5 separate regions of the Homo sapiens genome follow, and all the other regions are linked to region 4. The links are contacts of gene promoters, found by promoter capture Hi-C in human tissues and cell types (Jung and others, 2019). All regions are on one chromosome and are shown on one strand. Each heading gives the region's core, a stretch centred on a gene start or on the middle of the fragment in contact. The rest is flanking DNA. Distances are from core to core; before and after follow the strand shown. Region 1 overlaps ZNF493 (zinc finger protein 493). Region 2 holds the start of ZNF429 (zinc finger protein 429). Region 3 has its middle 8.7 kb from the start of ZNF66. Region 4 holds the start of ZNF714 (zinc finger protein 714). Region 5 overlaps ZNF626 (zinc finger protein 626).

What was found. Contacts are between HindIII fragments. The study calls those that stand out against the background at their distance.
Region 1: a fragment that was not itself captured here is called in contact with the fragment with the promoter of ZNF714 in region 4 in 2 of the 25 tissues and cell types used here (aorta and dorsolateral prefrontal cortex).
Region 2: a contact is called between a fragment that was not itself captured here and the fragment with the promoter of ZNF714 in region 4, in 1 of the 25 tissues and cell types used here (dorsolateral prefrontal cortex).
Region 3: a contact is called between a fragment that was not itself captured here and the fragment with the promoter of ZNF714 in region 4, in 1 of the 25 tissues and cell types used here (adrenal gland).
Region 5: a contact is called between a fragment that was not itself captured here and the fragment with the promoter of ZNF714 in region 4, in 1 of the 25 tissues and cell types used here (H1 embryonic stem cells).

Annotation. Positions count from the first base shown.
Region 1 is chr19:21,425,226-21,427,925 of GRCh38, reverse strand. ZNF493 (zinc finger protein 493) reads right to left here. Exons shown (of 4, transcript NM_001076678.3): 4 at 349-2,700. Among named protein-coding and RNA genes, the nearest start is that of ZNF493, 29 kb to the right of the region's middle. The HindIII fragment of the contact is 5,489 bases long and covers 1-2,700 here.
Region 2 is chr19:21,504,504-21,507,203 of GRCh38, reverse strand. ZNF429 (zinc finger protein 429) reads right to left here and starts at 1,602. Exons shown (of 4, transcript NM_001001415.4): 1 at 1,430-1,602. The coding sequence starts at 1,432. RefSeq lists enhancers at 617-1,218, 914-1,273, 1,284-1,603, 1,219-1,821. The HindIII fragment of the contact is 8,511 bases long and covers 1-2,700 here.
Region 3 is chr19:20,766,261-20,768,960 of GRCh38, reverse strand. No RefSeq gene overlaps it. Among named protein-coding and RNA genes, the nearest start is that of ZNF66, 8.7 kb to the left of the region's middle. The HindIII fragment of the contact is 4,061 bases long and covers 1-2,700 here.
Region 4 is chr19:21,080,787-21,083,486 of GRCh38, reverse strand. ZNF714 (zinc finger protein 714) reads right to left here and starts at 1,284. Exons shown (of 5, transcript NM_182515.4): 1 at 1,139-1,284. RefSeq lists an enhancer at 796-945. The HindIII fragment of the contact is 9,806 bases long and covers 1-2,700 here.
Region 5 is chr19:20,655,070-20,657,812 of GRCh38, reverse strand. All of the region lies in intron 1 of ZNF626 (zinc finger protein 626), which reads left to right. Among named protein-coding and RNA genes, the nearest start is that of ZNF626, 5.1 kb to the left of the region's middle. The HindIII fragment of the contact is 8,024 bases long and covers 1-2,743 here.

The DNA.
Region 1 (2,700 bases), core at 120-2,619, 340 kb before region 4:
TAAAAGTGTAGAATTGGGTTGTTTTTAATACAAAGAAATAAGTGCTAGAGGTGATGGATACCACACGTATCCCAATGTGATTATTACATATTGTATTTGTGTATCAAAATATGCCATATATGGCATAAGTATATAAACTCATGTACCCACAAAAATTAAGAAAAATAAATTTAAATGATTAAAATAAAAATAAAAATTTAACCTATAAGAACAATATTCTTTAACTTATTTGCAGTTCGAAGCCACTGGCAAAAGAGATGACTACAGATGTTAGTCCATGATGTTACCAAATAGTATATTGTTACCATCTTTTACGTATGCCATTTGGTAAGGTGGAAAATGTTAATCTTTGTGGCATAACAACACTTTATTGAATGCACAATAATATTTACCATGTTAAAAATGTTGAAACAGTTACCTTCACACAGAATTTAAAATTTTTTAAAATGTACTGCATTTTATTATATAAAAGTACAATTGGGGGGAGGGGGGACGGATAGCATTGGGAGATATACCTAATGCTAGATGACGAGTTAGTGGGTGCAGCGCACCAGCATGGCACATGTATACATATGTAACTAACCTGCACATTGTGCACATGTACCCTAAAACTTAAAGTATAATAAAAAAAGTACAATTAGTAAAATATATGAATAATATACTAGTTTTCTCATAATGCAAAAGAATATTACTCTTAACACCTACCTTGTGCATCACTCAATAGTATAAGTTAACCACAAAGAACCTCTCCACTTAGATTTTCACCATGCATCTTACATTTTAATATTCTTACTCATCCATAGAAAAGATCATAAATAATGCCCATCTAATGAAGAAGAATCTCTCATACCTCTGATGCAGCAACAAATGATCACAAGCTTTCACAAGTGAATAAGAATGAAGAAACAGCAGAAAATAATGAGTTGAGTTACATCATTTGCTTTTCAAAAAATCTGTAATTTTTTCAAGAAACAAAGTATAATCCGAATATAGTTATTATTCTACAAAAAATCTTTTACTCCTCTTAACATTATATACAAATAATTTTTCTACCAACTTTAGTTTTATTTTCTATACTCAGAACTCTCATTTAGTAGAATATTCGAAGTGTCGCTTCCTCATATATTTCTACTATAAATTCTGGTATTTACATAGACAAATTTGGATTAAAATTTTTTTTATTTTTACTACACCTTTGAAAATATATTTTCGTATAAACTCTGGTGTTTTCTAAGCTGTAGTTTTTGAAAATTTGTTTTCCCAAATTTATTACATTTGCAAGACAGCTCTCCAATATAAATTCCCTGATGTTGAACAAAGTTTGAGTGACCTCTTCAGAGTTTTTCTGTAGTACAAAATGTGGACAATAAGATCTGATACAAGTAAAGGTACTTCAACCCTCTTTATGGTTGTAATGTTCATCTTTAATATAAATACTCTCCTTCACTTTAAAGGATAATATTTTCTGAAAGATCTTTTGGCAGTAATTGCACTTATCATGCTTTTATTAAGCATGAACTCTCTGGTGTTTAGTAAGATGTGAGCAGATATTGACGTCTTTTTCACAGTCTATATTTCTACAATTTTTCTCAAATATAAATGATTTTCTGTGCAATAAGGTGTATTAGTTAAAAACTTTGCCACATTGTTCTTACTTGTAGGAAATTTTTCCAATATGAATATTACCTATAATCAAGTGTGACAACCATTTAAATACTTTGTTACATTCTCCACATTTCTAGGATTTCTCACCAATATGATTTCTTTTATGATTAGAAAAGTTTGAGATGTTGTCAGAAGCACTGTCACATCTTACTGGTTTGTAGAGTTTCTCTGCAGTAAGAATTATCGTATGTGTGTTAAGAACTGAGGACTAGTTAAAGCCTTTGCCATATTTTTCACAATCATAGGGTTTCTCTCCAGTATGAATTTTCTTATGTTTAGTAAAAATTGAGGACTGGTTAAAGGCTTTGTCACATTCTTCACATTTGTAGGGTTTCTCTCCTGTATGAATTATTTTGTTCAATAAAGTTTGAGGACTGGTTAAAAGCTTTGCCACATTCTTCACAGTTGTATGGTTTCTCTCCATCATTAATTATGTTTACTAGGAGTTGAGGACTGGATAAAGGCTTTGCCACATTCTTCACATTTGTAAGATTTTTCTCCAGTATGAGTTATCTTATGTTTAGTAAGGTTTGAAAATTGGTTAAAAGCTTTGCCACATTTTTCACATTTGTAGGGTTTCTCTCCAGCATGAATTATCTAATGTGTAGTAAGGGTTGAGGATTGGTTAAAAGGTTTGCCACATTTTTCACATTTGTAGGGCTTCTCTCCAGTATAAATTATCTTATGTGCAGTAAATTGGAGGGACAGGCTAAAGGCTTTGCCACATTCCTCACATTTGTAGGTTTTCTCTCCAGTATGAATTATCTTATGTTTACTAATGGATGAGGATTTGTTAAAAGCTTTGCCACATTCTTCACATTTGTATAATTTATCTCCTTTATGAATTATTTTATGTTTAGTAAGGTATAAGAATCAGTAAAAAGCTTTGAGACATTCCTCATATTTGTAGGGTTTCCTTCCAGTATGAATTATCTTACGTGTAGGCAGGGTTGAGAAGTGGTTAAAAGCTTTGTCACATTCTTCATATTTGTAGGATTTCTCTATGGTATGAATTCTCTTATGTTTAGTAAGGGA
Region 2 (2,700 bases), core at 70-2,569, 420 kb before region 4:
AGACCCTGCTTAGGACACCTGTGAAAAATGCAGGGGAAGATCAGTTTTGTGTAGGGAGTGAAAATAGTTAAGTGGTAGGCAATTCGACTGAGGTGGCTGTAGTCCCTGAATTCCTACTTTTAAAAGATCTAACTCAAGCCGGGAGCCGTGGCTCACGCCTGTAATCCCAGCACTTTGGGAGGCCGAGATGGGCGGATCACCCGAGGTCGGGAGTTCAAGACAAGCCTGACCAACACGGAGAAACCCCGTCTCTACTAAAAATACAAAATTAGCCGGGCGTGGTGGTGCCTGCCTATAATCCCAGCTACTCAGGAGGCTGAGGCAGGAGAATTACTTGAACACGGAGGCGGAAGGTGCAGTGAGCCGAGATCGCGCCACTGCAGTCCAGATTGGGCAAGAAGAGGGAAACTCCATCTCAAAAAAAAAAAAAAAAAAACAAAAAACTAACTCAAATGCTTTTTTTTTTGTAAATTACTACACTGGGGAAAACAAATACAGGGTTAACTATTAACTGGAATTAAGCTCTGATTACATAACCAGGAAATTTTGTAAGCTGAAGATGGAAATTAAGAAACTACGTAACCCTACCTAACCAATAACTGAATTTGCGTTTTTGTACCATGCGCAAAGTCTTTCCTTCAAGCTCCTCCAAAGGACCACAAACTACATCCCACAGCTGGGTGCTTTACAATTTTAGAACCACTCTTTAATTAAATTCTTTAATATTTTGCAGTGACTCCCCTTTTTTTTTTTTTTTTTTGTTTGAGATAGTCTCATTGTGTCAACCAGCCTGGAGTGCAATGGCACAATCTTGGTCTCCTGGGTTTAAGCGATTCTCGTGCCTCAGCCTCCCACATAGCTGGGATTACAGATGCCTGCCACCACATCCGGCTAATTTTTGTATTTTTAGCAGAGAGGGGGTTTCACCATGTTGGCCAGGCTGTTCTCGAATGCCGGACCTCAGTGATCTGCCCGCCTCCCAGCAAACTGCTGGGATTACAGGCATAAGCCACCGCGCCCGGCCACTCCCATAGATTTTTAATAGGAGAGAATGGGAACTGGGAACCCCACGGACCAAAGCTCTTCCCGCTCATGAACCCGCATCCCGAGTCACTATTCTCACCTGACGCCCCTCCCATGGTTCTTGCACAATCTGGGAGAGACTGCGGAATTGCGCGTGCAGAGCTCCCCAGACAGGGCTACACGTCAGGCACAGTCACTGCGGAGGGAAGACAGGACGCCCGGGGCCCGGCTGTCAGCACAGTCGCCATCTTATGGCTGAAGGGGACTGAAGCCGAGCTGGGCAAGGAGAATTCCGGGCGCAGATTGTGGAGCTGACTGCCGGGAGACCTAAGTCCGCCACGGCCACTTCTCACGGTTCCGACCAGCCCCTCCCCCTCTCTGGGGATGTCAGACTCGGCACTCTCACCATTTCTAGGCTTCCAGGGGGTCCTGGAGTCTTAGCTGTGTATCTCCCAATATCTGCGGGTCACAGGGCCACACAGGCTGGGCCTCTAAGAACAAAGGACACAGAAATGAAGACGAGACCTGGAGCTCTGGCTGCAGCAAGAGCCAAACGCCCCGCCATATTCCGGAAACCGTCCTGTCGCTCCAGCTGCGTGCCTGATTGGATAATGTTTAAGACCCGCCCTCTCAGGCCCTGAGTGACAGAGGGTGATCAGTTGCTGGGCAGAATGAAGCGTGACAGCCTAGCTGCAGCCTTTTCAGGCAGGCTTTCCTCCGAGCTGAGCCAGGCCCACCCTAGAGGGTGTTTGCATTGAACCTTGTGTGTAAGGTCATATGCATTTATAAATATACTATATGGCTAGTCACAAATGAAAAGAATATAATAACAATTACTTTTAAATTTTAGCTTTTATCACCTTCCTAGCTTCTGGTCCTTTGAGCAGGCAGCCTGAGATTTTAAAAAGGAGGCAGTCCTCTGAAATAAAATGTGAGCCACATGTGAATTTTTAATTTTCCAGTAGCCAAACTTTAAAAAGAAACATGAAACACGTGGAATTGATTGTAATAATGTAACTAACCCAATATGTTTAAAGTATTATAATTTTAATATGTGAGCAATGTGAAAGGAAAATATCTTGGGCCCCCAAAATTACTAAGGAAAACTCAAGCTGGGAACTAAAGGCCAATCAGAAACTCAAAAGAATTTGAGTCCACCTATCTGTGACCTGGAAGCTCCCTCCAGCTTCGTGTCTTCCTGCCTTTGCTTCAAGTTGTCCCACCTTTTCAGACTGAACCAATGTACTTCTTACATATATTGATTGATGTCTCATGTCTCCCTAAAATGTATAAAACCAATATGTTCCCTGACCACCTTGGGCAGGTGTCCTCAAGACTTCCTGAAACTATGTCATAGGCGTGTTCTCAACCTTGGCAAAATAAACTTTCTAAATTAACTGATGTCTCAGATTTTCTGGGGTCACAGCAATATGTAATTATTAAGGCACTATATATATTTTTGGAACTAAATCTTCGAAACCAACTCTGTATTTTACTTTTCTAGCAAATTGCAGTTCAGACCAGGCACATTCCAGGCACCCAGGAGCCACACATGGCCAACAGCCACCACGTTGAAGTGCAGCTCTGATGTCAGGTGGGTGGAGGCCCTGAACATCCCTTTTCTGCCAGAGGTGAGGAGACAGCCTCTCTCTACTAACATCTATCTTCGGTTCTGAG
Region 3 (2,700 bases), core at 108-2,607, 310 kb after region 4:
CTCAGGTTATGGTACAGCATTCACACACTGTTATGGTTCTTTTCTATGGGATGCCGCTTCTAATCAGCCATCTTGGCCCTGCCCCTGTAGCAGGATGAGCCACAGACAAAACTCCTCAGACACCAAATTAAAGAAGGAAGGGGTTTATTCGGCTGGGGACATCGGTAAGACTCCTGTCTCAAGAGCTGAGCTCCCCGAGTGAGCAATTCTAGTCCCTTTTAAGGGCTCACAACTCTAAGGGGGTCTGCGTGAGAGGGTCATGATCGATTGAGCAAGCAGGGGGTACATGACTGGGGGCTGCATACACTGGTAATTAGAATGGAACATAACAGGATAGGGATTTTCACAGTGCTTTTCTATACAATGTCTGTAATGTATGGATAACATAACCAATTAGGTCAGGGGTCGATCTTTAACTACCAGGCCCAGGGTGTGGCGCTGGGCTGTCTGCTTGTGGATTTCATTTCTGCCTTTTAGTTTTTACTTTTTCTTTCTTTGGAGGCAGAAATTGGGCATAAGACAATATGAGGGGTGGTCTCCTCCCTTACCCCCACCAATTTTTCTTTGAAAGGCTAGTAGAATTCAGCTGTGAATCCACCTGGTTCTGAACATTTTTTTTTTGGTTGGCAATTTTTTAAATTATTATTTCAATCTTGCTTCTTGTTATTAGTCTGTTCAGAGTTGTTTTTTTTTTAATCTAGGAGGATTGTACATTTGCAGGAATTTATTCATCTCCTTTACATTTTCTAATTTGTGCACATAAAGGTGTTCACAGTATCCCTAAATGATCTTTTGTATTTCTGTGGCAGCGGTTGCAATATCTTCTGTTTCATTTCTAATTGAGCTTATTTGGATCTTCTCTCTTCTTGGTTAATGCTGTTAATGGTCTATCAATTTTGTTTATCTTTTCTAAGAGCCAGCTTTTCATTTCATTTATCATTTGGATTTTCGTTGTTGTTGTTGTTTCAGTTTCATTTAGTTCTGCTCTGATCTTTGATATTTCTTTTCTACTGCTGGGTTTGGGCTTGGCTTGTTCTTGTGCCTCTAGTTCCTTGAGGTGTTATCTTACATTGTCAACCTATGCTCTTTCAGACTTTTTGATGGAAGAACTTGATGCTATGAACTTTCCTTTCAGCACCACTTCTGCTGTATCCCAGACGTTTTGATAGGTTGTGCCATTATTATTGTTCAGTTCAAAGAATTTTTAAATTTAAATCTTGATTTCATCCAAAGATCATTCAGAACCAGGTTGATCTTAAATTTAATTATTTATTTAATTTCCATGTATTTATTTAATTTCTACAATTTATTTAATTTCCATGTATTTGCATTGTTTTGATGGTTCATTTAGAGTTGATTTTGAATTTTATTCCACTGCAGTCTGAGAGAGTAGTTGATATAATTTTGATTGTCTTAAATTTATTGCGACTTGTTTTGTGACCTATCATGTGTCTATCTTGGAGAATGTTCCATGTGCTGATGAATAAAATGTATATTCTGCAGTTGTTGTGTGGAATGTTCTGTAAATATTTGTCAAGTCCATTTGTTCTAGGTTATAGTTTAAGTCCATTCCCTTTTTTGTTGTTATTGTTGACTTTGTCTTGATGACTTGTCTAGTGCTGTCAGTAGAGTATTGAAGTTCCCCATTATTATTGTGTTGCCATTTATCCCTTTTCTTAGATCTAGTAGTAATTGTTTCATGAATTTGGGAGCTCCAATGTTAGGTGCATATATATTTAGGATTATGATATTTTCCTATTGGACTAGTCCTTTTTTATCATTATATAATGTCCCTCTTTGTGTTTTTTATTTTTTACCTGTTTTTGCTTTAAAGCTTGTTTGTCTGATGTAAGAATGGCTACTACTGCTTGCTTTCAGGGTATCAGGGTACGTTTACATGGAATATCTTTTTCCAATCCTTTACCTTAAGTTTATGTTAGTCCTTATGTGTTGGGTGAGTCTCTGGAAGACAGCAGATATTTTATTGGTAAACTCTTATCTATTCTGCTATTGTGTATGTTTTAAGTGGAGCATTTAGGCCATTTACATTCAACATTAGTATTGAGGTGTGAAGGACTGTTCTATTCATTGTGCCAGTAGTTTCCTGAATACCTCTTATATTGTGTTATTGTTTTATAGGCCTTGTGAGATTTATGCCTTAAGGAGGTTCTATTTCAGTGTATTTTGAGGTTTTGTTTCAAGATTTAGAACACTTTTTAGCAGTTCTTACAGTGGTGGCTTGGTAGTGGTGAATTCTCTAAGCATTTGTTTGTCTGGAAAAGACCGTATCTTTCTTCATTTATGAAGCTTATTTTCACTGAATACAAAATTTGGGCTGATGCTTGTCTTGTTTAAGGAGGCTAAACATAGGACCCCAATCCCTTCTAGCTTGTAGGGATTCTGTTGAGAAATCTGCTGGTAATCTGATATGTTTTTCTTTATAGGTTACCTGATGCTTTTTTCTCACAGCTCTTAAAAATCTTTCCTGTATATTGACTTCAGATAACCTGATGACTGTGTGCCTAGGTGATGATCTTCTTGTGATGAATTTCCTTGGAGTTCTTTGAACTTCTTGTATTTGGATGTCTAGATCTCTAGTAAGGCCAGGAAAGTTTTTCTCAGTTATTTCCTCAAATAAGTTTTCCAAACTTTTAGATTTCACTTCTTCCCTGGGGACACCAATTATTCTTAGGTTTGGTT
Region 4 (2,700 bases), core at 35-2,534:
GGGACGGGAGGTTAGATTTAAGACAGTGCTTGGGACACAGTTGAAAAATGCACCAGAAAATCAGTTCCCCATGGAGTGTGAAAATAATTAAGCGGCGGGAAATTAGACTGAGGTGTCTCTAGTCCCTGGATTCCTACTTTTAAAAAAATCTGGCTGGGCGCGGTGGCTCACGCCTGTAATCCCAGCACTTTGGGGAGGCCGTGGAGGGCAGATCACCTGAGGTCGGGAGTTCGAGACCAGCCTGACCAACATGCAGAAACCCGTCTCTACTAAAACCACAAAATTAGACGGGCGTGGTGGCGCATGCCTGTAATCCCAGCTACCTGGGAGGCTGAAGCATTGGATCGCTTGAACCCGGGAGGCAGAGGTTACGGTGAGACAAGATCGCCCCATTGCACTCCAGCCTGGGCAACAAGAGCGAAACTCCATCTTAAAAAAAAAAAATCTAACTGAGGTGCATTTTTAGTAAATTACTACATTGAGAGAAACAAAATTCATCCTTAACCAACTATAAACTGCCAATTAACATCTAATTACATAACCAGGAAATTTTCACCTTTATTTTACAAATTAAGAAACTATGTATCTGAACCTAACCAATTACTGAATTTGGTTTTCTTCATCATGCTGTTTATAAAAGTCTTTACTTCAAGCCCCGCCCATAAACCATAAATTACAAACCACAGCTGGGTGCTCCACAATTTTTGAATCACGCTTTGATTAAATGCTTTAGTGTTTTAACGGTGACTCCCATACATTTTCAACAGAAGAGGAACTGGAACCCCACGGACCCATTCATAAACCCGCACCCCGAGTCAGGATTCTACCCCTGGGACCCTCCAGTGGTCCCTGCACAATCCGGGAGAGACGCGCCGCTGAGGGTCCAGAGCTGCCCTGAGAGGACTCCAGGTCAGGGCCCAGTCACTGCGCAGGGAAAAGACAGGACGCCCGGGATCCCGCAGTCAGCGCAGCCGCCATCTTATGGCTGAAGGGGACTGAGGCCGAGCTGAGCAAGGAGAACTCCGGGCGCAGATTGTAGAGTTGACTGCGGGGAGGCCTAAGTCCCACCACAGCCACTTCCCACCGCTTACAACCCGCCCCTTCCCCTCTCTCGGGATGTCGGACCCGGCACTCTCACCATTTCTAGGCTTCCGGGGTACCTGGCGTCTTAGCTGTGGATCTCTCAATACCTGCAGGTCACAGGGCCACAGAGGCTGGGCCTCTGCGAGCAGAGGACACAGGGCAGTGAAGGCGAGACCTGCAGCTCCAGCTGCAGCGAGAGACAAAGGCCCCGCCACATCCCCGAAGCCGTCCTGTCCGCTCCAGCTGCAGGCCTGATTGGACGGTTCCCAACCCAGCGTCGCTGATTGGATAACTTTTAAAACCCCACCTTCTCGTGCCCTGAGTGACAGAAGATGTGATCAGTTGCTGGGCTGAGTGAAGAAAGGGTGACAGCCTAGGCTGCAGCCTTCTCAGGCAGGGCTTCCTCCCAGAGCTGAGCCAGGCCCACCCCAGAGGGAATTTGCCTTTAAACTTGTGTGTAAAGTCATATGCATTTATAAATAATATATGGCTCTTCACAAAGGAAAAAATATAATTTTATAATAACAATTATTTTAAAATTTCAGATTTTATGACCTTCCTGGCTTCTTTCTGGTCTTTGAGCAGGCAGGCTGAGATTTTAGAAAGGAGGTAATCCTCTGAAATAAAATGTGAGCCATATGTGAATTTTAAGTTTTCTAGTAGCCAAACTTGAAAAAGAAACAAGAACAGGTTGAATTGATTGTAACAATTTAATTAACCCAATATATCAAAAAAATTTTCATTTTAATGTGTGAGAAATATGTAATTATTAATAAAGTATATAAATATTTGGAACTAAATCTTTGAAACTAACTCTGTATTTTACCTTTCTAGCATCGCACTTCAGACCAGGCGCCACACATGGCCAATAACTGCCACATTGAAGTGCAGCTCTGATGTCAGCGGTGTGAAGGGCCCAAGCAAACCTTTTCTGCCAGAGGTGAAGGAAGAGCCTCTCCCTACCAACATCTCTCTTCCGTTCCGGGGGTGGAACAGATAGTGGCCAAAGAAAGAGGAGACGGCAGCAGGAATAAAATAATTACAAGTAAAGCACTGCTGGATGAGATCACAGGCGCGCGCCACCATGCTCGGCTAATTTTTTGTATTTTTAGTAGACACGGGGTTTCACCATGTTGGCCAGGCTGGTCCTGAACTCCTGACCTCAGGTGATCTGCCCGCTTTGGCCTCCCAAAGTGTTGGGATTACAGGCGTGAGCCACCGCACCCAGCCTCAAAATGTTTTTTCTTTCTTTTTTTTTAATTTTAAAAAATGATGGGAACATGTCAAAGGGAGCCAGCCTGAAAGAACTCCCAATGGTCCATCCTGGAACAATGTTAGCATCCAAATGAATAATTAGAGCACTGACCTATAAAATAAATCAAGTCAAATAAATAAATACCCATGCATTTACACTGATACACAAAAAACTTTAAATAAATAAAAAAGAAAAAAGGATAGGGAAATTTTTTTTTACAGAATTCCAAATACTAATCAACATAGATAAAATGCTAAAGAAACCATCACAAAACCACCAGTTATTATTGTATCCAAGGTTAACTGAGGAGTGTAAAAATTGTAAATAACACTTAAAAAATAAGCATTGTATTTGCATAGCAC
Region 5 (2,743 bases), core at 8-2,507, 430 kb after region 4:
TTTTTTTGAGATGGATTTTTGTTCTTGTTGCCCAGGCTGGAGTGCAATTGTGCCACCTCGGCTCACCGCAACCTTCGCCTCCTGGATTCAAGCAATTCTCCTGCCTCAGCCTCCTATGTAGCTGGGATTAGAGTCGCATGCCACCACACCTAGCTAATTTTGTATTTTTAGTAGAGAGGGGTTTCTCCATGTTGGTCAGGCTGGTCTTAAACTCCTGAACTCAGGTGATTATCCCACCTCGGCCTCCCAAAGTACTGGGATTACAGGCGTGAGCCACCATGCCTGGACTCCGCATTAGTTTTCTAAGAATAATTGTCTCCAGCTTCATCAGTGTTATTGCAAAGGACATGGTCATTTTTTTTTAATGGCCACAGAGTATTCCATGATGTTTATGTACCATATTTTGTATTTACTAAATCTTTTATTTTATTTTATTTTTGGAGATAGGCTTATTGCCCAGGCTAGAGTGCCATAGCATGATTTTGGCGTACTTTAGCTTCCATCTTTCAGGCTCAAGCAGTTCTCTCCTACCTCATCCTCCCAAGTAGCTGGGACTACACACGTATGCATTACCATGCCTGGCCAATTTTTCATTTTGTATTTTCTGTGGAGACAGGATTTTGCCATGTTGACCAGGCTGGTCTCAAACTTCTAAGCTCAGGCAATCCACCTGCCTCGGCCTCCCAAAATGCTGGGATTACAGACATGAGCCACCGCATCTGACCATACCATATTTTCTTTATCTTGTCTACCAGTGATAGGCATTCAGGGCCTGTCTACGTCTTTGCTATTGTGAATAGTGCTGCAATGAACATGCATGTGAATATGTCTTTATAATATAATAATTTATATTTCTTTGGCTATATACCCAATTATGAGATTCCTGGGTCAAATTGATAATTCTGTTTTTAGTTCTGTGAGGAATCACCACACTGCTTTTTACTGTTGTTGAACTAATTTACACTCCCACCAGAAGAGTATAAGCATTCCCTTTTCTCTGCAACCTTGCCAGCATCTGTTATTTTTTGACTTATGAAAAACAGCCATTCTGATGGGTGTGAGGTGGTATCTCATTGTGGTTTTTCTTTTAATTTCTCTAATGACTAGCGATGACCTTTTTTTTTTTTTTAATAATGCTTGTTAGCCACATGTATGTCTTCTTTTGACAAGCATCTGTTCGTGTTATTTGCCTACTTTTTAATGAGATGTTTGCCTTTTTCTTGTAAACTTGTTTAAATTCTTAATAAATTCTGTATGTTAGACCTTTGTCATAGACAACGTTTGCAAATATTTTCTTTTATTCTGTAGGTTGTTTGTTTGAGCTATTTATAGTTTCCTTTGCTGTGAAGAAGCTCTTTAGTTTAAATAGGTCCAATTTGTCAGTTTTTGCTTTTGTTGCAATTGCTTTTGGTAGCTTCATCATGAAGTCTTTGCCAGTGTCTATATCTAGAATGTTATTCTCTATGTTATCTTGCAGAGTTTCTTATAATTTTAAGTTTTTCATTTAAGTCTTTAATTTATCTTGAGTTGATTTTTGTATATGGTGTAATGAAGGGGTCCAGTTTCAGTCTTCTACATAGTGCTAGGTAGTTATTCCTGCACCATTTATTAAAGAGAGAATTCTTCCCATATTCCTCTTGTCAGCTTTGTCAAAAATCTGATGAGTGTAGGAGGGTGACATTATTTCTGGGCTCTCTATTCTGTTGTGTTGGTCTTGTGCACTTACGGATTTCATATATCTTTCTCTCTTCTGGTTTTTCCCCTGTAAACATTATTTCAAGTGCATACAGTGTGCTAATTTCAGATGTCCAAGAGTTCAAACTCTTCAAAAAGTTCCAAAAAAAAATTTTGCTATTCCCTCTTTTCTTTTTTTTTTTTGAGGCAAAGTCTCGCTCTGCCACCCAGGCTGGAGTGCAGTGGCGCGATCTCGGCTCACTGCAACCTCTGCCTCCTGGGTTCACGCCAATCTCCTGCCTCAGCCTCCCAAGTAGCTGGGACTACAGGCACCCGCCACCATGCCCAGCTAATTTTTTTGTTCTTTTTTTTGTATTTTTAGTAGAGACGGGGTTTCACGATGTTTGCCAGGATGGTCTTGATCTCCTGACCTTGTGATCCACCTGCCTTGGCTTCCCAAAGTGTTGGGATTGCAGGCATGAGCCACCGTGCCTGGCCGCTATTCCCTCTTTTCTTAAGGGATTTAGAATATATGTAGATATTTTTCTCTGCTTGTTTGAAATATATGTAAATCATGTCAACAGCTAAATAAAAGTTTTGTCATTTTTTCTGACTCCAGATTATTATAAGTACTTAAGATGTATTGCTTTGTTTTTGGTTCCGAAAAGTTTATTTTTTTGATTTTTATTCCTTTAAGGTAGACACAGATTTGTTTAGATACAAGCTCATTTTAAGAGCACACAGAAGCTTAGCACAAAGATAGGAGTAAAGGTAGCAATACAGAATAATAAAGACTAAATGATACTCAGTTTCTTTGACAGAAACCTGATAATCCAAGGTAACTATCCAATATTTGCAGGCTGAAGTACTTATACTGCGAAAGCAAGAACAGTTCAGGGTATAAACTGAACAGTTGAGTCTGTAGTTGTACCTTGCTTTCTGTTTATTATTTCAGAGCAATTAGCAGTTATCTTTGTAGATAATCTGCATTCATATAAATTAAACCATATTTTCATTTTTTTTTTTTTTGAGACAGTCTCACTCTGTTGCCGAGGCTGGAGTGCAGTTG